Regions from separate parts of the Homo sapiens genome. Here regions 1, 2, 3, 4, 5 and 7 are each linked to region 6. The links are contacts of gene promoters, found by promoter capture Hi-C in human tissues and cell types (Jung and others, 2019). All regions are on one chromosome and are shown on one strand. Each heading gives the region's core, a stretch centred on a gene start or on the middle of the fragment in contact. The rest is flanking DNA. Distances are from core to core; before and after follow the strand shown.

What was found. Contacts are between HindIII fragments. The study calls those that stand out against the background at their distance.
Region 1: a fragment that was not itself captured here is called in contact with the fragment with the promoter of GGACT in region 6 in 2 of the 25 tissues and cell types used here (lymphoblastoid cells and thymus).
Region 2: a fragment that was not itself captured here is called in contact with the fragment with the promoter of GGACT in region 6 in 1 of the 25 tissues and cell types used here (dorsolateral prefrontal cortex).
Region 3: a fragment that was not itself captured here is called in contact with the fragment with the promoter of GGACT in region 6 in 1 of the 25 tissues and cell types used here (dorsolateral prefrontal cortex).
Region 4: a contact is called between a fragment that was not itself captured here and the fragment with the promoter of GGACT in region 6, in 2 of the 25 tissues and cell types used here (dorsolateral prefrontal cortex and spleen).
Region 5: a fragment that was not itself captured here is called in contact with the fragment with the promoter of GGACT in region 6 in 2 of the 25 tissues and cell types used here (IMR-90 fibroblasts and lymphoblastoid cells).
Region 7: a fragment that was not itself captured here is called in contact with the fragment with the promoter of GGACT in region 6 in 2 of the 25 tissues and cell types used here (hippocampus and spleen).

The regions. Positions count from the first base shown.
Region 1 is chr13:99,631,688-99,634,562 of GRCh38, reverse strand. The region is part of intron 1 of CLYBL (citramalyl-CoA lyase); the gene reads right to left. Among named protein-coding and RNA genes, the nearest start is that of MIR4306, 9.9 kb to the left of the region's middle. The HindIII fragment of the contact is 8,104 bases long and covers 1-2,875 here.
Region 2 is chr13:99,651,227-99,654,116 of GRCh38, reverse strand. All of the region lies in intron 1 of CLYBL (citramalyl-CoA lyase), which reads right to left. Among named protein-coding and RNA genes, the nearest start is that of MIR4306, 9.6 kb to the right of the region's middle. The HindIII fragment of the contact is 3,879 bases long and covers 1-2,890 here.
Region 3 is chr13:99,667,537-99,670,483 of GRCh38, reverse strand. All of the region lies in intron 1 of CLYBL (citramalyl-CoA lyase), which reads right to left. Among named protein-coding and RNA genes, the nearest start is that of CLYBL-AS2, 22 kb to the left of the region's middle. The HindIII fragment of the contact is 4,692 bases long and covers 1-2,947 here.
Region 4 is chr13:99,686,215-99,688,957 of GRCh38, reverse strand. The region is part of intron 1 of CLYBL (citramalyl-CoA lyase); the gene reads right to left. It overlaps LOC124903199 (a long non-coding RNA gene), which reads right to left. Exons shown (of 2, transcript XR_007063848.1): 2 at 1-344. Among named protein-coding and RNA genes, the nearest start is that of CLYBL-AS2, 3.4 kb to the left of the region's middle. RefSeq lists enhancers at 1,372-2,130, 2,131-2,743. The HindIII fragment of the contact is 3,167 bases long and covers 1-2,743 here.
Region 5 is chr13:99,828,563-99,831,520 of GRCh38, reverse strand. All of the region lies in intron 2 of CLYBL (citramalyl-CoA lyase), which reads right to left. All of the region lies in intron 1 of CLYBL-AS3 (CLYBL antisense RNA 3), which reads left to right. Among named protein-coding and RNA genes, the nearest start is that of CLYBL-AS1, 100 kb to the right of the region's middle. The HindIII fragment of the contact is 5,772 bases long and covers 1-2,958 here.
Region 6 is chr13:100,587,526-100,590,385 of GRCh38, reverse strand. GGACT (gamma-glutamylamine cyclotransferase) reads left to right here and starts at 1,597. Exons shown (of 3, transcript NM_001195087.2): 1 at 1,597-1,645. RefSeq lists a silencer at 1,445-1,964. The HindIII fragment of the contact is 6,002 bases long and covers 1-2,860 here.
Region 7 is chr13:99,792,750-99,795,811 of GRCh38, reverse strand. All of the region lies in intron 2 of CLYBL (citramalyl-CoA lyase), which reads right to left. All of the region lies in intron 1 of CLYBL-AS3 (CLYBL antisense RNA 3), which reads left to right. Among named protein-coding and RNA genes, the nearest start is that of CLYBL-AS1, 65 kb to the right of the region's middle. The HindIII fragment of the contact is 4,897 bases long and covers 1-3,062 here.

The DNA.
Region 1 (2,875 bases), core at 364-2,863, 960 kb after region 6:
CTTTTCCACGGGGAAGGTTATCACTGTTAAAGTTTTCTTGCGTGTCCTTCCTGAAATAATTGCTATATAAATATTTATTATTATTACTATTACATGTTTACATCAACACAGATGGATCTATCTGATTATTTTCTTCATCATTTCTGGTTCATTTCTTTTTATAGATCCAAGTTATCATCTGGGGTTATTTCCCTTAAGCCTAAAGAAATTCCTTTAGCATTTCTCATAGTCAGATTCTTTGCAACAAATTCTCTCAGTTTTTGTTTAATTATAAAGGTCTTTATTTGGGCTTCAATTTTGAAGGATAGTTTTGCTGGACGTAGAACCCTGGGTTGATATTTTGTCTTTCAATACGTTTACCTTCTACTCTCCACTGTTTCTGATAAGCAGTCGGCTGTTAGTTATATTATTGTTCCTTCTGTGCACCTTCTTTTTTTCTCAGGCAGCTTTCAGGACTTTCTTATTTTTGGATTTCAGCAATGTGGCTCTCATGTGCATGTGTGTGTTTTAATTTATCTTGCTGAGTGTTTGTTAAGGGATCAGTGAGTTAATGGATTTCACCGAATTTGGAACATTTCTGGTCATTATCCCCTCAAATATTTTTTCTGCCCTAATCTCTTTTTTGCTTCTGGAACTCCAACTATACATGTTAGACTGCTTGGTACTGTCCCACAGGTCTCTGAGGCTCTATTTGCTTTTCTTCAATCTTTTTCTTTTCCTCAAACTGAGTACATACGATTGATCTATTTTTCAGTTAACTTTGTCTGCTATTGAGCTTACTGGTAAAAATTTCTATTTAGTTCATGTATTTTCACCTCTCTTTTCATAAAATTCACAATTTTCACCATTTTAAAGTTTAAAATTCACAGTGCTGTACAAGCCTCACCACTAGCTCAAGAACACTTTCATCAACACAAAAGGAAACCCCATATGCATTAAACAATCACTTCCCATTCCCTCCTCCCCTCAACCTCTGGCAACCACTAACCTTTCAGCTCTTTTTCATAGCTATTTTTTTTTTTTTTTTTGAGACAGAGTCCTGCACTGTCACCCAGGCTGGAGTACAGTGGTGCCATCTTGGCTCACTGCAACCTCCACCTCCCAGGCTCAAGCGATTTTTGTGCCTCAGCCTCCCAAGTAGCTGGGATTACAGATGCGTGCCACCATGCCCAGTTTTGTATTTTTAGTAGAGACGGGGTTTTGCCATGTTGCCCAGGCTGGTATCAAACTCCTGACCTCAAGTGATCCGCCCACTTCTGCCTCTCAAAGTGCTGGGATTACAGGCATTAGCTACCACACCTGGCCTTATTTCTTTTCTTCTCTTCTCTTTTTTTTTTTTTTTTTTTTTTTTTGAGACAGGATCTTGCTCTGTTGCCCAGGCTGGAGTGCACTGGTATGATCTCGGCTCACTGCAACCTCTGCCTCCCACGTTCAAGAGATTCTCCTGTCTCAGTCTCCCACACCTGGCTAATTTTTGTATTTTTAGTTAGAGACAGGGTTTTGCCATGTTGGCCAGTCTGGTCATGAATTCCTGGCCTCAAGTGATCCACCCACCTGGGCCCCCAAAGTGTTGGGATTACAGGTGTGAGACACTGCACCTGGCCCATAGCTACTATTTCTAAGCTGATACTCCCTATCTGTTCATTCATTGTGTATACATTTTTATTAAGTCTTTGAATGTATTTATGGTAGATGCTTTAAAGTCCTTGTCTATTAATTGTAACATCTCTATCATCTTGAGTTTGGCTTCTATTATCTACTTTTTTCCCATTTCTACCTCTATCTAGTGGGGTTTTTTTGTTTTTGTTTTGTTTTTTTTGAGACGGAGTCTCACTCTGTCACCAGGCTGGAGTGCAGTGGCACAATCTCGGCTCACTGCAACCTCCGCCTCCCAGGTTCAAGGGATTCTCTTGCCTCAGCCTCTTGAATAGCTGGGACTACAGGTGCCCACCAGCACACCTGGCTAATTTTTTTTGTATATTTAGTAGAGATGGGGTTTCACTATGTTGGCCAGGCTGGTCTCAAACTTCTGACCTCAGGCAATCCGTCTGCCTTGGTCTCCCAAAGTGCTGGGATTACAGGCATGAGCCACAATGCCCGGCCTCTAGTGGTTTCTGATAGGACACTGGACATGATGATCGATATGTTATAGAGATTCCAGATTCTGCACATTTCTCTGAAGACTAATTTTTGTTCTAGCAGACAGCTAACTTGGCTGAACACAAATACCAAGTTCTGTCTTCCCTATGGTAGGCAGTGGCCAAGATCTTTGCTTAGTTTTTTTCAGGCTTAAAGCTGCTACTTTTTCACCAGGTTTGCAGACACATAGTTTAGTAGCCAACCAAGGATTTGTGCAATTTCATATGCAGATTTGGGTGTTTGTGCCCTCTGTAGCTCCCTCCTCTCTGGGGTTTCCCTCTTAATTTTCTGACTGCTCTGCCAGCTCTGCCAGTTTCTACCTCTGCCCTCTAACATCGCAATACAGTAAGGCTGCGGCTTTTGGCCACTTAATTAGCTTTGGGAGTACCTTCAGGTTAAAGCTACAAACCTGCAAACCTTATCCACCGCAGTTTGTCTTTTGAGGTAGATTCTCCTCCAGTTTCTGCCTGATTTTGCTTGCTTTCTGGTGACTTACAATAGTTTTTAAAAATACTTTGTGTGTGGCCAGGTGCGGTGGCTCACGCCTGTAATCCCAGCACTTTGGGAGGCTGAGGCGGGTGGATCACGAGGTCAAGAGATCGAGATCATCCTGGCTGGTCAACATGGTGAAACCCCGTCTCTACTAAAAATACAAAAATTAGCTGGGCGTGGTGGTGCGTGCCTGTAGTCTCAGCTACTCAGGAGGCTGAGGCAGAAGAATCGCTTGAACCCGGGA
Region 2 (2,890 bases), core at 203-2,702, 940 kb after region 6:
GCATGTGTCCCCCTACCCCACGTGGTGGGAGCAAACCAAGCAGCCGCCTTGGGGAAGATGTGTGCCATGTGCTGAGGTTGGCAGAACCATAGCTAAAGGAGCCTGAGACCTCACTGAGCCATCGTTATCAGCCCTGCACCACCTAACCATGTTTCAAGTGAGGGGGGAAGAAATTATCCTTGATAAAGTCATTGTATTTGAAGATCTTTTGGCCATAACACCCAAATCTGTATCCTCACTTATATCCTAGTTATGGATGAGTTGAATGAAAATGGGCATGTCCAGCCCATCATACCCAGCATATCACCCTTGAATCAATTGAAATTTGAGCAGGAGAAGGAACAAGTGAACCAAAACCACACTGTCAGCGTCCTGGGAGATCTGGACAATTATGAGACTCAAAAGTGGAGGAGAAGGTTAATAACTGGCCAGGATGAAAAAAAAAGAAAAAGCTAGAGAACAAATGAGAAGCCAAGAAAAGGAGAAAAAAGTCCCAGTAGCTTCTCATGTGGTGTGTCTGAATTTCCAAACAGATGCACGTAATTAAGTAGGTTTATTTAAACATGAAAGATCACTATTTCTTTGGATCATCATAAGGCTGGTGAACAAGCACCATGATCTTTGGATGAGTAGAGGGAGGCAGAGACCCCTGCCAGGAGTTACAGGTGAGTTGCTAGGAATGGAGGTCTGGAACCTAAGTGTGCTGGGTGCTCCCCCTTATATACAGGACTTTTTTTTTTTTGGCCGGTCCTCCTTGTCCCCAGGCTAACAGCCTCATGACACAGATTCCTTAGCAGTGGCCTGCTGCTTATTCCTGCTCTTTAAAAAATAGTACATCCATCATGATACTCCCATTCTGAAACATCCACAGGTGCTCCTAGTGCTTAGAAAACAACATCTGAAGTCTTTGCCTAGAATTCAAGGCTGTCTACAACTGGACCCAAACACCCTTCCAACCTCACTCTCCACCACTCCCCTCTACAAACCCTTGCCCTTCAGATTGGCTTGTCTTTTCCCAACAAACAGTATACATTCCTGCCTCCTGTGATTTTCCTCAGGTAGCCCCACCTCCCCCAGGGCCATGCCCTGCTACCACACACGTGCAAAGCCCACTTGTCGTCATGGGAGTGTTATTTACCGCCACCAGCTCATCTGCTTTTAGGGTGTGTCTCCCCAGCTCATGACTGCAACTCTTCCCAACTTTGTGTCAGTCATACAAGGTGGCCAGCACAGCCCTTCCACTTGGGAGAAGGGCATCCATTGTTTTGATTTGATTGATTCTTAAGAAGCAATAAGCTTCAGTAGCATCCTCACCTCCGACACCCAGGCGAGAGCCTGCCTGTTATGTGGAGGCCTCTGAGTGGCTTCTCCCTGAGTATGGAGGTGAAAGAGGCCACGACACCACTTGCCATTTGGGTAGCATTGCTGGAACATTCGGGACCCTTTCGCACCTCATCCATCCATGGCTACTCTGGATCCTGCACCCACAGGTCCTACTTTTGGCAAATCAATGCTGGCTAGCAGGGGCTATAGTGTTATCCCTTCCCAGGATATCTGCTTTTTATTTTTTTAATTGAGATAGGGTCTCACTATATTGCCCAGGCTGGTCTCAAACTCCTGAGTGCAAGTGATCCACCCGCTTCAGCCTCCCAAAGTGCTGGGATTACAGGTGTGAGCCATGTCTGGCCAATATCTGTATTTTAATGGACAACTTCCCTGCTTGCTCAGAACACTTGGCAAATCACACCAGACAGGCCAGTTGGGGCACTGGAGCACTGGAAATGGAAGGTTTAGTCCTGTGGTGAACAGTCACTGGCTGTTGACTATCCCAAAACACACTTCACCCCCTGAGGAACTTGCCTCATCCTACCCACAGCTGACAGTGTGCTGGGATTATCATCAAGGAGCCCAGCTCTCCCAGAGCCAAAGGGTGGGCCCTATTAGCCCAGTTGGACACTCCCTCCCTGGAGCCTGCATCCTGAGCAGAGTTACAGACTGAGCACCCTGGCAGCACACTGTTCTCGTGGCTGAGCAGGGACACAATGGAGAAGGATTCATGTCGGCATGCCTACAGTTGCTTTCCACCGACGGTGTGAATGTGTCCATATCCTTCCAGGAAAACCCCCTCTTGCCAAAGCCAGATGTGGTGTCTGTTGCTTACAACCAAGAATCTTTTTTTCCCCCCAAGATGGAGTCTTGCTTTGTCGCCCAGGCTGGAGTGCAATGGCATGATCTCGGCTCACTGCAACCTCTGCCTCCCGAGTTCAAGCAATTCTCCTGCCTCAGCCTCCCAAGTAGCTGGGATTACAGGCACGTGCCACCAGGCCTGGCTAATTTTTTTGTATTTTTAGTAGAGACGGGGTTTCACCATGTTGGCCAGGCTGGTCTCAAACTCCTGACCTCATGATCCACCCACCTCTCCCTCCCAAAGTGTTGGGATTACAGGCGTGAGCCACTGCACCTGGCCACAACCAAGAATCTTAACTGATGGAAAGCCACAACCCAGAATTCCATTTCACTCAAAAAATATTTATTCAATTCTTTTTTGAGACGGGGTCTCGCTGTGTCACCCAGGCTGGAGTGCAGTGGTGTGATCTTGGCTCACTACAACCTCCGTCTCCTGGGTTCAAGCGATTCTCCCACCTCAGCCTCCCAAGTAGCTGGGATTACAGGCATGCGCCACTACGCCCAGCTAATTTTTGTATTTTTAGCAGAGATGGGGTTTAGCCATGTTGGCCAGTCTAGTCTAGAACTCCTGACGTCAGGCCACTCGCCTTGGCTTCCCCAAGTGCTGGGATTACAGGCGTGAGCCACCTCACCTGGCCTATTTATTCAGTTCTTGTCATGTGCTTGGCACCAAGACAGATGCTGGGCCTGCAATCAGGTACCA
Region 3 (2,947 bases), core at 73-2,572, 920 kb after region 6:
TAAGTTTTGTTTCAGGAAACATAAACAAGTTATGTTTCAGGAAACTGCCACGGGAAATTCCACGTAACATAACTTGGATGGTGAAGAACTTCTTAAATTTAATTTTTACTTTTTTAGAGACAGGGTCTCGCTACTTTGCTCAGGCTGGACCGCAGTGGCTATTCACAGACGCAATCATAGCTCACTATAGCCTCAAACTCCTGGGCTCAAGTGATCCTCCCACCTCAGTCTCCCAAGTAGCTGGGACTATAGGCATGCACCACTGCACCTAGCTCTTTTTTTTTTAAGATGGAGTTTTGCTCTGTCACCCAGGCTGGAGTGCAGTGGCACGATCTTAGCTCACTGCAACCTCCGCCTCCCAGGTTCAAGCAATTCTCATACCTCAGCCTCTTGAGTAGCTGGGACTACAGGTGCATGCCACCATGCCTGGCTAATTTTCATTTTTTTTTTTTTAATAGAGACGGGGTTTCACTATGTTGGCCAGGCTGGTCTCGAACACCTGACTTCAAATGATCTGCCTGCCTCGGCCTTCCAAAATGCTGGGATTACAGGCGTAAGCCATGGCGCCCAGCCTGCACCCAGCTCTTTAAAGTGTCATTTATACACATGGAAATTTCTAATAGGCCCCTTGCTAAAACAATAGAATGAAAAAATATGCCTATAAGGAAACTTAACAGATTGAGTAAGCCCAAACTTGTCTTGCAGTTCTAGGAACCCTGTCACTAATCATGAGATATATGCTGTGTGGGGTGCAGAACACTGTTTGTATCTCAGTTGTGAGTAACAGCTCTTAAAAGCTAAAAATAGGGATCTTCATGGGAAATGAAAAAGAAAATGTACAACATCCATGCAATTGAAGGTAGGCTCTCAGTAAACTAAGAAATCTTTTCAGAGGTAAAGAAAATGAAATAATGATTTGAAACTACCACCCAACTCTCCATTTCCTATTTGGGAAAAGCTAAGGTTCTTTGGAATATCTAACTTTTTCAAGGCTTATGACACCCTCCCCTCCCATCCACCTCTCCCCTCTCTCCAGTTCCTAGAAAAATGACTGCATAATGTGCTTGTGGAATTTTTGCAAATGGCTAGAGAAAGCTCTGGAAGGAAGAAAGGACAAGCTACATGTTCTTCACGTGTCTCCATGCCCCTAATGCCTCACTCCCCATTCAAAGCTAAGGACCTGGCCGGGCGCGGCAGCTCACACCTGTAATCCCAGCACTTTAGGAGGCTGAGGCGGGCAGATCATGAGGTTGAGAGCTCGAGAGCATCCTGGTCAACGTGGTAAAATCCCTTCTATACTAAAAATACAAAAAAATTAGCTGGGCATGGTGGCACATGCCTGTAGTTCCAGCTACTTGGGAAGCTGAGGCAGGAGAATCGCTTGAACCTGGGAGGCAGAGGTTGCAGTGAGCCGAGATCGCGCCACTGCACTCCAGCCTGGTGACAGAGCAAAACTCCATCTCAAAAAAAAAAAAAAGCTGAGGGCCTATAAAGTCACCCCTAGATCTGCCCACACTTCTTGGGCATCTGCCTCCTGCCTTCTCCCCGCTGAACCAGCTTGTCCTGCCCTGGAGCCCCTAGTGAATCTGGCTTCTGCACTCTTCACCTAGATTAACACCTTGATTCAATCATATCACGGCCTTGGAGTGTGATTTTATCCCTTCATCCTATTTTCTGGATTGGCTTCCAGCACCTTGGACCTGGCCAGGACACCCCCAGCTTGGCATCCCAGAAGCCCGGCAGGCTGGGGTTGCTGTGTCATTGTACCATCCTCATGCCCAGGGAGGGGATTTAGACATCAGCAGTGATGAGCGATAGTTCTCATTTTTCTTCTATCTACCAAAATACATTCATCTTGCTCAAATAGCCAATATTCTTTTTTTCTTTTTTTTTTTTTTGAGATGGAGTTTCGCTCTGTCTCCCAGGCTGGAGTGCAGTGGCATAATCTCAGCTCACTGCAACCTCCGCCTCCCAGGTTCAAGTGATTCTCCTGCCTCAGCCTCCCGAGTAGCTGGGATTCACAGGCAACTGCCATCTCACCCAGCTAATTTTCGTATTTTTAATAGAGATGGGGTTTCACCATGTTGGTCAGGCTGGTCTCGAACTCCTGGCCTCAGGTGATCCACCTGCCTTGGCCTCCCAGTGCTGGGATTACAGGCGTGAGCTACCATGCCCGGCCGCCAGTGTTCTATTAAAGATTTTTTTTTTTTAAGACAAGGGCTCACTCTGTCGCCCAGGCTGGAGTGCAGTGGCATGATCTTGGATCACTGCAACCTCTGCCTCCTGGGCTCAAACGATCCTCCCACCCCAGCCTCCCACGTAGCTGGGACTACAGGCATGTGCCACCATGTATGGCTATTTGTTGTATTTTATGTAGAGACAGGGTTTCACCATGTTGCCCAGGCTGTTCTCGAACTTCTGACCTCAATCAATCCTCCCACCTCGGCCTCCTAAAGTGCTGGAATTACAGGTGTGAGCCACCATGCCCAGCCTCTAATGTTCTATTGAAGATGAAGATTTATTTTTGCTCCTCATCTTTTCATACCTAATTACTTGGCAAGCATTAATAAAAAATGATGGGCAAACCTTCATTTCTCAGGTGACCAGAGAATTCTTCAAATGCATCTATCCTTTTGTTCCAAAACAGACCATTTGCCAATTGGAATAGTAGAAAGATTTTTGTTTTTAGAGGGAATCAGGTGAATGTGAAATGAGTTGACTAGTAAAATTTAAGAGCGAATGTTTATTTTGACTACTAGAAATATCTGAGTCAAAAAAGTAGGAGATTTGTTTTTTAGATAATATCAAATGTATTCCATAACTTCATCAAAATGATTTTCAATGCAGGCACCACAAGTTGCTTCCCTTAAAATGTTCAATTGTACTCTGTAAACACCCAAAACTACTAGGAAATTGAGGCCAGTTGACACATTCCCTCTCTGTCTTA
Region 4 (2,743 bases), core at 48-2,547, 900 kb after region 6:
ATCTGTACCACTAGCTTTTGTCAGGATGAATGACGGTGCTGAGTAATTTCAGGAAAGCAACTCATCTGCCCAAATATGACTGCCAAAATATTCAGAATAATGTAGCTTAGCACTTCAATGTAAATTTTACTTTCTGACTTCACAAATAAGGAAGAAGTTGCCTTTTGGACGCTCTATCTTTTGCACTGGCTTTAATACCCAGGAACGGCCACTGTCAGATCCTCCATTCCATGCAGGAGCTGGAAGAGATATAAGGAATGTATTTCTTCTCTCTCTCTTCATGTCACCACCCTCTCATTTCCAGTTCACTTGTTATTCTTAAAGAGTAATGCCAAGTTTGTACACTAAAAAAAAAAAAAGAATCGGACTAAAGAAAAGCCAAATAAGTAATATAATTAGTAAATATGCTAATTCAGATTAAAATATAAGTCTTTAAAAAGTTCAACTTGTTATATGTAAAATTATTTTAATGACATATTGGAGAAAAATCTGGCATTATGCTGCCAAGAAGGCAATACATTTAAGGCAATCTTACAAAGTATATGAAATCACAGACTGTAATATCCTGCAACTATTTTAATTTTAAAAGCTCAGTTTACAAATATATACTAATATTTTTCTCACTTTTAATCGCTCCCCCACTGTTTTAGCATAAGAGCTAAAATAACCTAAAACGGCCCCTAAAACACACACAGCGAGTCTGTTACACAGATCTGGAAACCAAAAAAAAATGTATGAAGGAAGGAATTTTCAATAATCTGAAACAGAGTAGCAAAAAATGTGTGTGGTTTCTAGGTTTTCACTACTAATAAAAATTTTTCCTGGGAAAAATTTTACTTTAAAGCAACTCTAAATGAAAATGCATATAATTAAGGGAAAGACCGTTGCTTCAAACAGATTGACTGTCTTTAACAAGTTTCTCTCTTTCTAGCTACTCAGATATGCTATATTTCCTAATTATCACCTTTTAAGGGCCATCTGGGCCCATTCCTCCCCATCAGGGGGCAATTCCATTTGCATTGTTCCTGGGCTTAGTCATGATCAAGTAGTCTGGTGGTAAAGTTCATTAGAAATTAGAACAGAAGCATTCAACCCAACACAGTAAACCAAGTATCTGATACTCAGGCACCCGCAGGAGAGATGATAAGCATGTCAGACATATTCTCACATAACTAACAAGTCTTCAATGTGCATTTTATCCAATTGCTTAAAGAAACATTCAGCCTGGTCCCTGACCAGGTATGTAATGAAGATTTGATTAAGTCTTCTCACACTGCAAAACATTTCTCAGTTAAGGCAATGTAAGTATAGTCCCTTATGTCTTTTGGTTCAAAAGTCTATTAAAAACCCTTTAATGGTTCCCTCATTTAGCCTACCATTCACAAGCAGTATACTACTTCCTTCCTGTAGAGAACACACAAGAATTATCCTAATTGTATTTTCTGTGAAACAAACGCACATTACAGGAAAAAGTGGATCCAGCCCTCAGTCCGATGCTGACTAGCTATGGGTCCCTTCTGTCCTCACCAAGAGATCATCCTATAGATTCACAAGCTCTTTACAAACCTGTGTGTGTGCCAAAGGCATGCCTGGCCCATGGGTATGCTAGATAGTCCAGGCAGCTGCTCTTCAACAGAGCTGATTGTAAAAGGTATGGCTAATTCAAGGCAGGCATATAAAAGGTTTCCCGCTTCATACCTCATAAGGCCTGATACATAAAACCCAGGAAATCGTTACCTGCCTCATCTTGCAATTTCTGAGCCTGGCTTGCAATGGCCATCTTAATCCGCAACACCAGCCTATTGAGATTGAGGAGGAGTGCTCCATGCTGAGACCTACAGCCTCTTGGAGCTACACCTTAGTCTTGCAAATGAAGACAGCTGCAGCGGGCCCTAATCTATGCAAGGCAGGTGTAGCCCCGGAGCTCTCTGCAAGTGACCCTTGGAGCTATTAGGGCTGGGAAGTTAAGAAGTTACAGTTATAAAAAGAACTATTTCATAGCCTCTCATTATCGAGGTTACTAAGCTTTCTAAAGGAACAATGGCTTATTTCCTCCCATTTGTGCCTTGATATCCTCCCCTGCCCTTCTGAAATTCCCTGTTTAGACAGTTCCTAATTCTGACCCCGGCTGAGACACTTTAAATTGGTGGCATAGCTCGTCCCCAACTGATGCTATTCGTTCAATGCTGTGTTGAAAATTTGAATCTGCGTCAAGTTTTCCATTTTAAAAACCTATCCTAAAATCCACTATCCAGACAGAAGTGGAGATTTCAGGAGAAAGTAATGCTTACAGAATCATCCCAAGATTCAATAATGTATATAAATGATACTTTAGTACTGCTTAGTAAATTAATCTAAAGCAAAACATTGCATTACTGAAACTGAGCCAACAACAATTCACTCAAAAAGCAGTCACTGAGTCTCTCTCTCTCTCTCTCTCTCTCTGTTGAAACAAATACTTTTATGTCTGAGGCCAGCTCCTGGCCTCGAGAGTGTCTCTCAAAGGACTGTGGAAACAGAACTCCAAAGATGTTTCTGCTATAGAAGGAAATGGCTGTGTCACTGTGTTATCAGCAAGGCCACCAGATGCTCAGAGGGGAGGTGGTGCTGGTGCTGGGCCGAGCCGGTGAGCTCAGCACTAGGAGCTGCCGGCTCCTGCGAGTCAGGCCCATGTCAGTCTAGGAGCATAGTCCAAATGGAGCAGCTATATATGCCCTGGAAAAACTCAGAGCATGTAGCCTGG
Region 5 (2,958 bases), core at 91-2,590, 760 kb after region 6:
TGTTGCATAGGTAAACATGTGCCAAGGTGGTTTGCCGCACCTATCAACCCATCACCTAGGTATTAGGCCCAGCATGCATTAGCTATTTATCCTGATGCTCTCCCTCCACCTGCCTCCCTGAGAGTTCTTTTATTCTTATTATTAGTAAGAACAACCATGATGTTAATTAGGAAAAGAGACCTTGCAGCTCCTGATTAATGGTATCAATGATAATATATCTGAGGTGTATTAGTTTCTTAGGGCCACCATAACAAATGACCATAAAATTGGCAGCTTAAAACAACAAAAATGTATTCTTTCATAGTTCTGGAGCCCAGAAATGTGGACTTGAGGTGTGTGCAGGGCGCAGTCCCTCTCTAGCGGATCCTCCTTGCCTCCTGCAGCTCCTGCTGGCTGCTGGCAGTCCCTGCAGCTGCCGCCACCCAACCCCTGCCTCTTCCTTCATGTGCCCTTCTCCTCTGTGTCTGTCTTCTCCTCTGTGTCTGACTTCTCTTCTGTGTCTGACTTCTCTTCTGTGTCTGTCTTCTCCTCTGTGTGTCTCTGATTTCTCTTAAAAAGACACTTGTCATTGGATTTTGGGCCCACCCAGATAATCCATGATGGTCTTTTCTCGAGATCCTTAACTTCATCGGCAAAGACCATTTTTCCAAATAAGGTCACATTCACAGGTCCCAGGGATTAGGACATGGACTTATCTTTTCAATGCAATCCACGACTGGAAGCATATTCCATGAACAATGGAATGAACACTTCTTTAAAAGAGTTATTAGAAAGCAGTATGTTAACAAAGGTGAGTTCTCCCTTTTCCATCTCTCCCTCTCCTCTCTACATCCCTTAAGAGGAACAGTGCCTGGACTATTTGAGGTCTTTGGTAAGATCTCTAGGGGTGTCACTGTGTCCTAGGACACAGAGCTAGGGACTGTCACAGACTCACAGAGTAGTTGAGTTGGACAGAACTTAGAGGTAACTTGGGGCAACCCTAATCTCACATATGACTCCTCTCTGCAACATTCCTGGGCTGAGGGGCACCCACACTGCTCCAGTGTCTCCAAGTCCATCTTTATGTCCTTGGCTGGCTCTAGGTGCCACTTTCTATACCGCAGTGGTGCCTGGAACCACGCTCAGCCTCCTCATCTTTATGTGCGTCAGTGCCTGTCCTTCCCGTTGTGTTGTTCATCTCTACCAGGAGGGCACTGATCTAAACCACTGTCCTTAGGATGTGTGCATAGAGTAATTCTTTTCATCAAGAATGCTGGCTCTTCCACTTAGGCCTAATAAATATCTTTCATCATGCAGAAAATGCATTTTTAGATGACTGGCTGAGTTTCAGAATCACAGAATTTTAGGGCTGAAGAAAGCTCTACAATTATCTAGTCATTTTAGAAACAAGGAGACAAAAGTCCGAGAGAGAGATCAACAAATGACTGAAGGTCACTCTGATGCCGGGGGGAGAGCCAGGACTTGAACGCACATCCCCTGAAGCCCATCCGAGAGCTTGTTCACTACATCACATATGATTCAGAATGTGACCCAAAGCTTGCTCCGGTGTGAATTACGCTTGACATGCTGGCCCCCTTGGTGCCACCCCGTGAGACCATCAACCCAATGATCATATTCAACAATATTTCCTGAGTGTGTGCTATGGGCAGACAGGCTCTCCGCTCTCACGGAGCTTATACACTCAAGCGAGTAAATGATTAAACAGTACCTGAAAGGCTGCAAGGCTCTAATCAGCTGTCACATTTCGGAGTTGATTGGGACTGAGGTCAGCTTGTTCAGCTCCTGATCCTTCACTGTACCCTTAGAGGAAAGGTGACGTAACTGGAGCTAATGTCCCTACTTTAAAGGTTCCTAGAAGTGTCCAATGTCATCATTTGAGTCAAAAGCACCTATTGGTCTAGAAAATAATTCTCCTCACTTCCTTTCTAGTGCTCAATTCTAAGATAAACCAGAAACCCAAGATCAGTAATGACAACAACAACAACAACCCTGCTTTTATTAAAACTCATCATTGCCCATAAAATAAAGTAGATCTCTTGGGAAGAGTAAAGCCACCAACTAGCTACTTGTACATGAGAGAGGCATTTTCTGGTTGACACAGTGAGAAAAAAGCCCCAGATGGCGGATCTTTTTGGCATGGACTTCCCTGCTCCGGCTGTCTTAACGTGTTCCTTCACTGCATTCATTCTTCCTGCATCAGAACCGCCTTGGCAGTTTGCTTATTTCCAAGGAAGAAAAAAAACAGGAAGGTTTGCATCTGCAAGATTCCTACCTTCCTCCTTGGATGCTACGGTGCCTATTCACAAGAGGTGGTGACTAAAATGACCTGGAGCCTTGGGTGAAAAATTTCAAATCTCTGTCCTGTGACAGGTTCAACACATTCCCTTCCTCATGAGAAAGGAAAGGGGATTCGAGTTTTGGAGGGCGTTACCTGGGTGGGATCTGATGCCTGATGCAGATTCTGAATGTATTTGAAAACAGGTTTTGGCATGTGGGGATGCAGCACGTTGCATGGCTGCTGGCTTCAGAGTACATCCCGTGGGTTCATAGCCCTGTCTTCCGTCACGAGGAATCCCTGCCAATCTAGGGTCTGCACACTGCTTCTGCCAGCCAATCTCTAATTCAGCATATGTACAAAGCCAATTTTTGGACACCGTGATGGAGCCTGGCACCTCTGCCGCCCTCCATATTTGCAAGGCTCACAGTGAAATAACAAGCAATGAGCAAGAAAGAAAAAAAGATGACATGAAAAGGCTTTCTAAATTCCCAGATAAATGGTGTATGTATTATATATGTGTGTCTCCCTCCACCTTTTCCAACATAAGCTTACCCCATGCCTTTCCTTGTAGTTATTTCATTTAGGTTTTCAATCTGGGACGCACTTAGCAATAGCCAACACTGACGAAGAGAAAACCCTGCTCCCCACTGAGAACATCTGATTTTTAAAATGTAGAAATG
Region 6 (2,860 bases), core at 348-2,847:
CAGGGGTTGCAATGAGCCAATAACATGCTACTGTACTCCAACCTAGGTGACAGAGTGAGAACCCATCTCAAAACAAACAAAAAATTCGTCTAGTCTGCGTCATCTTTAATTTTCCTTTATCAGAAGAATTATTTATCTATTTGTCTCACTTTCCTTTGCTGACATGATTTTCCCCCCTCAAAAAAGAGATGAAAGTGGAATCATTCTTTCGCTTCAAAAAGTTAAGAATTACTGCTGTCTTTAAAAATATTAATATGAGGCCGGGCGCGGTGGCTCACGCCTGTAATCCCAGCACTTTGGGAGGCCGAGGCAGGCGGATCACGAGGTCAGGAGATCGAGACCATCCTGGCTAAAATGGTGAAACCCCGTCTCTACTAAACATACAAAAAATTAGCCGGGCGTAGTGGCGGGCGCCTGTAGTCCCAGCTACTTGGGAGGCTGAGGCAGGAGAATGGCGTGAACCCGGGAGGCGGAGCTTGCAGTGAACCAGATCCCGCCACTGCACTCCAGCCTAGGCGACAGAGCGAGACTCCGTCTCAAAAAAAAAAAAAAAAAAAAAAAAAATATTAATATGAGCTAGACAAGGTTTTTTAATACATTTCAATTTAATTATGAAGTGTCCAAGACAAGAAAAAACTGTGAAAACCAACGACTTATGTACCTGATGGTTTAGATTTCTTTTGGAATTGTACATCTGTTCAAAATACAATTACATCTGCATTGTTGGAAACGTTTGGATAAAAACCAGTTTATATAAAGGTTTCAATCAGTCCACATCCATGAGAAAGTAGAAAGGGCAGGAAATGATTAAGGGGGATTATTGCTAATCTGATAAACACAGATTTGTGTCTTTCGGAGAGACAGAAGTGTCACTCTCTCCATAGCTGTACCATTCCTACCACCTGGCCCCCAAGTGGCATTGCTTTAACCCATTGTCTCTAGGGAAAATGTTCTCTTTCGATTTTGGTTCTCAGTCCTATAATTTCTGGGGCTTAAATTAGTCCTGGAGCTAGGGAAGAGGTGATGTCATCCTTCCATTGTCTCCTTCGGCCACAGTTTCATTTTAAGAGTATTGGTAAGTAAGTGGGCAGTGTGACTAGATGGCGGTCTGGACTCGGTATCAGGGCTGTGTGCATGCCCAGCTGGGGGGCCTTGGTGGTGTGTGATGTGATAGATACACACATGGTTGGCATCCCCAAGTGTGTCTGCGCTTGGGTTCATTTGTGTGTGCATGTGTGTCCATTTGATGTGGCGTGTCCCCAAGCTTGTGGAGTCGTCTGTGAGTCTGTTTTGTGGGGTGTGGCCCAGGTGTGTCAGGGTCCACCATGCAGTCGGGGCTTGAGCCTGAGTGCCCAGGTGTGTTAGGGTGGATGTGACTTCTGTGGGGCGTCCCCAGGTGTGTGAAGCTGGTTGCGCTGTGTCTGCGGCGGGGCGTCTCCGGCGGGCATCGGCGTGGGTGGGTCTGGCTGTTAGGCGGCCAGTTGTGCGAGCGGCCACGTGTGTGCGAGGGCGCCGCAGGGGCTGGCGGGCCTCGCGTTCCGCCTGCAGGGGGCGCCGCCGGGGGCGGCCTGGGAGCAGAGGCGCGGGCCCGGCCCTGCATTTCCGCCCTGGCCCTGCCCTCCCCGACAGCCCCGGCTGCCGGCAGGTGAGGCGCTGAGCCCGGGCGGGGGTCGGGGCTGCGCCTGCTCCGCCCCCCAGGCGGGGTGTCCTGGCGCCCGCGGGAACCTGGGGCGTCGCTCCCTGCGCGGCGTCCGGGTCGAGGCCGCAGCACTCGGCGTCCCCGCGGGTGAGGGAGGAGGCCTGGGGCGCCGCCGGCCGGCGAGGCCAGCCGGAGGGAGGGGACGGTGGACCCCGAAACGCGTCCTCCATTGCCCCGCGCGGGGGCCACGGGCGCGATTGCCAGAACGGGCAGAGGGCGGTAAAAGCCAGGAACCGCCTCACGCACGGGCGCTGCTTCCCTGTAAAGGAAGCGTGACAGCCCACACGCTGGCTTTCAGAGGACCTCAGCTGAACCGGGCTAACACTTCTCAGAAATTGTTTTTCATTTTAAAGATTTCCTGTTTGTAAGGAGACTAGAAGCTGCAAAAGAAATCTAAAAACGTCTCCTGGCACTTGTGAATTTCTGATCTAAGGTTTCTTTGGAGCCATTAGTGAAACTTCTGAAATTTTGAAGAAATTTACTGCCTTGATTATTAATTATGGTTATCATTGCTGTTTTACTCTGTGGGCCAAGGACAACGCCACAAGCTCAAAAGCAGACTTAAGTGTTTTTTGAACACAGCTTCTTAACTCCACGCTTAGTTGATTTAATATTTAAGTGATAAGAAAATGCAGTCGATTTCTGGCCCTTTTTATTGTTTGGGATGAAGTCTTGCCCTGTTGCCCAGGCTGGAGTGCAGTGGCGCGATCTCGGCTCACTGCAACCTCTGCCTTCCGGGTTCAAGCGATTCTCCTGCCTCAGTCTCCCGGGTAGCTGGGATTACAGGCGCCTGCTATCACGCCCAGCTTATTTTTGTGTTTTTAGTAGAGACAGGGTTTCACCATGTTGGCCAGGCTGGTCTCGAACTCCTGACCCCGTGATCCGCCCGCCTTGGCCTCCCAAAATGTTGGGATTACAGGCATGAGCCACTGCACCCGGGATTTGTGGCCTTTTTTAAAAGCAAGTTATTCGTTTTGCTAAATGTCCCAGGAGAAATGATTAATGAAAAACTAAAGGTGACCTATTTAAAGTGTAGGTCTTACACACACGTAGGTGTCCTTATGTACATTTACCTGTAAGTGAAGACTTTTCCCTGGCCTCATTCAATTTATTGAAATGCTCAGATGAAGAGCACCTGCAGTTTGCCCGTATTTTCCCAAA
Region 7 (3,062 bases), core at 438-2,937, 790 kb after region 6:
GGCTCCAAGAATTCACCCTCCAATTCTTGAATAGTCTTTGGGAAACCAAAGACAAAGCTGGCCTTTTATCTCCGGCCAGCACCTGGCTCATCTTTCTCTCTAGGCTTTTGAGCTCTTTTGACAGATGTTTAGGGAGAGTTTTTGTTTTTTGTGTTTTTGAGACAGGTTCTCACTCTGTCACCCAGGCTGGAGTTTGGTGGCATGATCATGGCCCACTGCAGTCTCAACATCCTGGGCTCAAGCAATCTTCCCATCTCAGACTCCTGAGTAACTGGGACCACAAGCACATGCCACCATGCCTGGGTAATTTTTTTTTCTTTTGTAGAGGTGGGATCTCACTATGTTGCCCAGGCTGATCTTGAACTCCTGGCCTCAAGTGATCCTCCCTCCTCAGCCTCCCAAAGTGCTAGGATTACAGGTGTGAGCCACTATCCCTGGCCCTAGAAAAGTCTTTTTGGTTTAATTACCTGGAGTTAATCAATAACTTGCCCAAGAATATGCTGCTTCTTAGACTAGACTTGGCTGAGAATTCAGGGCCCAACTGTTAACTTTTGGAGGTTAATTTCTGACCAATAAATGGCTAACACAACTGCATTACATGGAGGAAATTGCAAAAACATATTTGAAATAGCACATTTTTAGTAGAAGGGCAGGCTGTGTCTTGAGTTAATTCCTGACTTGACATTTGCTCCTCACGAGCCACACTTTCCTCCTCTGTTATCAGCAAAACACCATGCGGCCTGCATAGCCGGTACAGAATAAGATTTAAACCACCACTACCACCATCCTGAGAAGCTTTGATATATTTAAAAATACATGGCAAAAGTATGATATTATTGCTGAACTCTGTCTCTAAATCAGAATACTAAATTATGACTTAAAATACACCCACTGATTTATTATTAAAAACATAGTATTTAGCCTGGGTGTGGTGGCTTACACCTATAATCCCAGCACTTTGGGAGGCCAAGACAGATGGATCACCTGAGGTCAGGAGTTCTAGATCAGCCTGGCCAACATGGTGAAATCCTGCCTCTACCAAAAATACAAAAATTAGCCAGGTGTGGTGGCACATGCCTGTAATCCCAACTACTCGGGAGGCTGAGGCATGAGAATTGGTTGAACTCAGACGGTGGAGGTTGTGGTGAGCCAAGACAGCACCACTGCACTCTAGCCTGGGTGACAGCATATGACTCCATCTCAAAATAATAATAATAATAATAATAATAAATGAAAATATAGTATTTAATACTGTTATAAATTGTGGCAAATGAAATTTTTAAAAACTGAAAAGAATACTATGTTTTGATATGAAGCATGTTCTCTGCATGATTTCACACTATCTTCTCTTTATTTTGGCAGTGGTTATATACACTTGAATCTTTTTTCTTGAGATGGAGTCTTGCTCTTGTCAGCCACGCTGGAGTGCAGTGGTGCAATCTTGGCTCACTGCAACCTCCACCTCCTGGGTTCAAGTGATCCTCCTGCCTCAGCCTCCCAGAAGCTGGGATTACAGGTGTGTGCCACCATGCCCACCTAATTTTTGTATTTTTAGTGCAGAGAGGGTTTCATCATGTTGGCCAGGCTGATCTCGAACTCCTGACCTCAGGTGATCTGCCTGCCTCGGCCTCCCAAAGTGCTGGGATTACAGGCATGAGCCACGGCGCCTGGCCACATATTTGATTCGTTAGTCACAGATTTAGCAAACCAAAACCTCTTAAATTTATTTTGTAAAAATCACCTGTGGTCCTGGTCCAACGGAGAGATTTTAATTAGTAGCTATATTTGGAATAAGTAACTTTAATGATTTTCACCATAGTCTCGAAGCTATTTCTTACTTCATATTAGAGGAAATGGATGCAGTTTCCACATTTATAAAGCTTTGAATCATTTAAGCTGCATTTTCTTTCTTTTTTTTTTTTTTAATCTTAATTTTGAGCTGGAGCTCAAAGATCTGTTTTATTGCCTAGGCCCGGGCTTTCTGTAGCCAGATATATCACATTATAGATCATACTCAGTCTTACTTAATTGGATTCCTAGGAATTGCAGGAAAAGAAATAACTGGCAATTTAAAGCCTGCATCTCTTTGAAAAGAGACTTTGCTGATCTCATTAAATGGAAATTGCTGACTATTATGACCCTAATAGAGATATTTGAATCCTTGCATTAAGAGGATGCCTGGTTTGAAGAATAAAACAATGAGAAAAAATTTTTTGTTGTTTTTTATTTATTTTTTAACAATTACTGTTCAAAAGGGGAAAGGTTATTTAAGGGTATGAAGAGATTAATAAAAGACTGAAAACACTTTACTACTTTTATAAAAACCTGGATAGGTTTTTATATCAGAACCTTTAAGGATCAAAAAGACCTTGCAGAGTTCCTAAGCACAGTTCAGCTTTCCACACTGTTCCAGAAAGACTCAGATATCCTAATTCCTATTGAAGACATCTCCTGAGCTCTTAAGTCTTTTAATAAAAGCAAGGCACCTGGGAGAGGAGCCTTCCCATCCTAATTTCACACCCCTATTGAAGAGGAGTTGGCTCCCCATGCCCCTGTATACATTTAATCATTCCCTGCACATTAGTTCACTGGCTCGCTGTGGGAAGTATACACCTAGCCACTCCACTAATTTATTTCAACAAAAGTGACAGCACTGAGGAATTTAAAAGTTAGCCAAATGGATTCGTGTATGTGTACGGTGTGTCTATGTAAGCATAAATGGGGCTTTAAGGTCTACGTACTTTGTGTGTGTGTGTGTGTGTGTGTGTGTGTGTGTGTTATGTATGCACATGTGCACAAGAAGAAGTATAAATGAGAGCACAAAGTAGAGAGAATATATATGCTCAGGTGGAAAGGACCCTCCATCTGTATGGCAATTAAAGTAATAATAATAAAGAGTACTAATAAATTAATAATAAAGACTAATAATAAGCCAATAACTTTGAATGATATTGGGCGTTTCTTTCTGAGCAACTCACACTGACAAATGGAGTGCCTCCCCGGTTCTGCAGTCTAACAGGTGACTACAGGAGGCCTTGCAGGAATTTCTGTTTGGGGAAGAG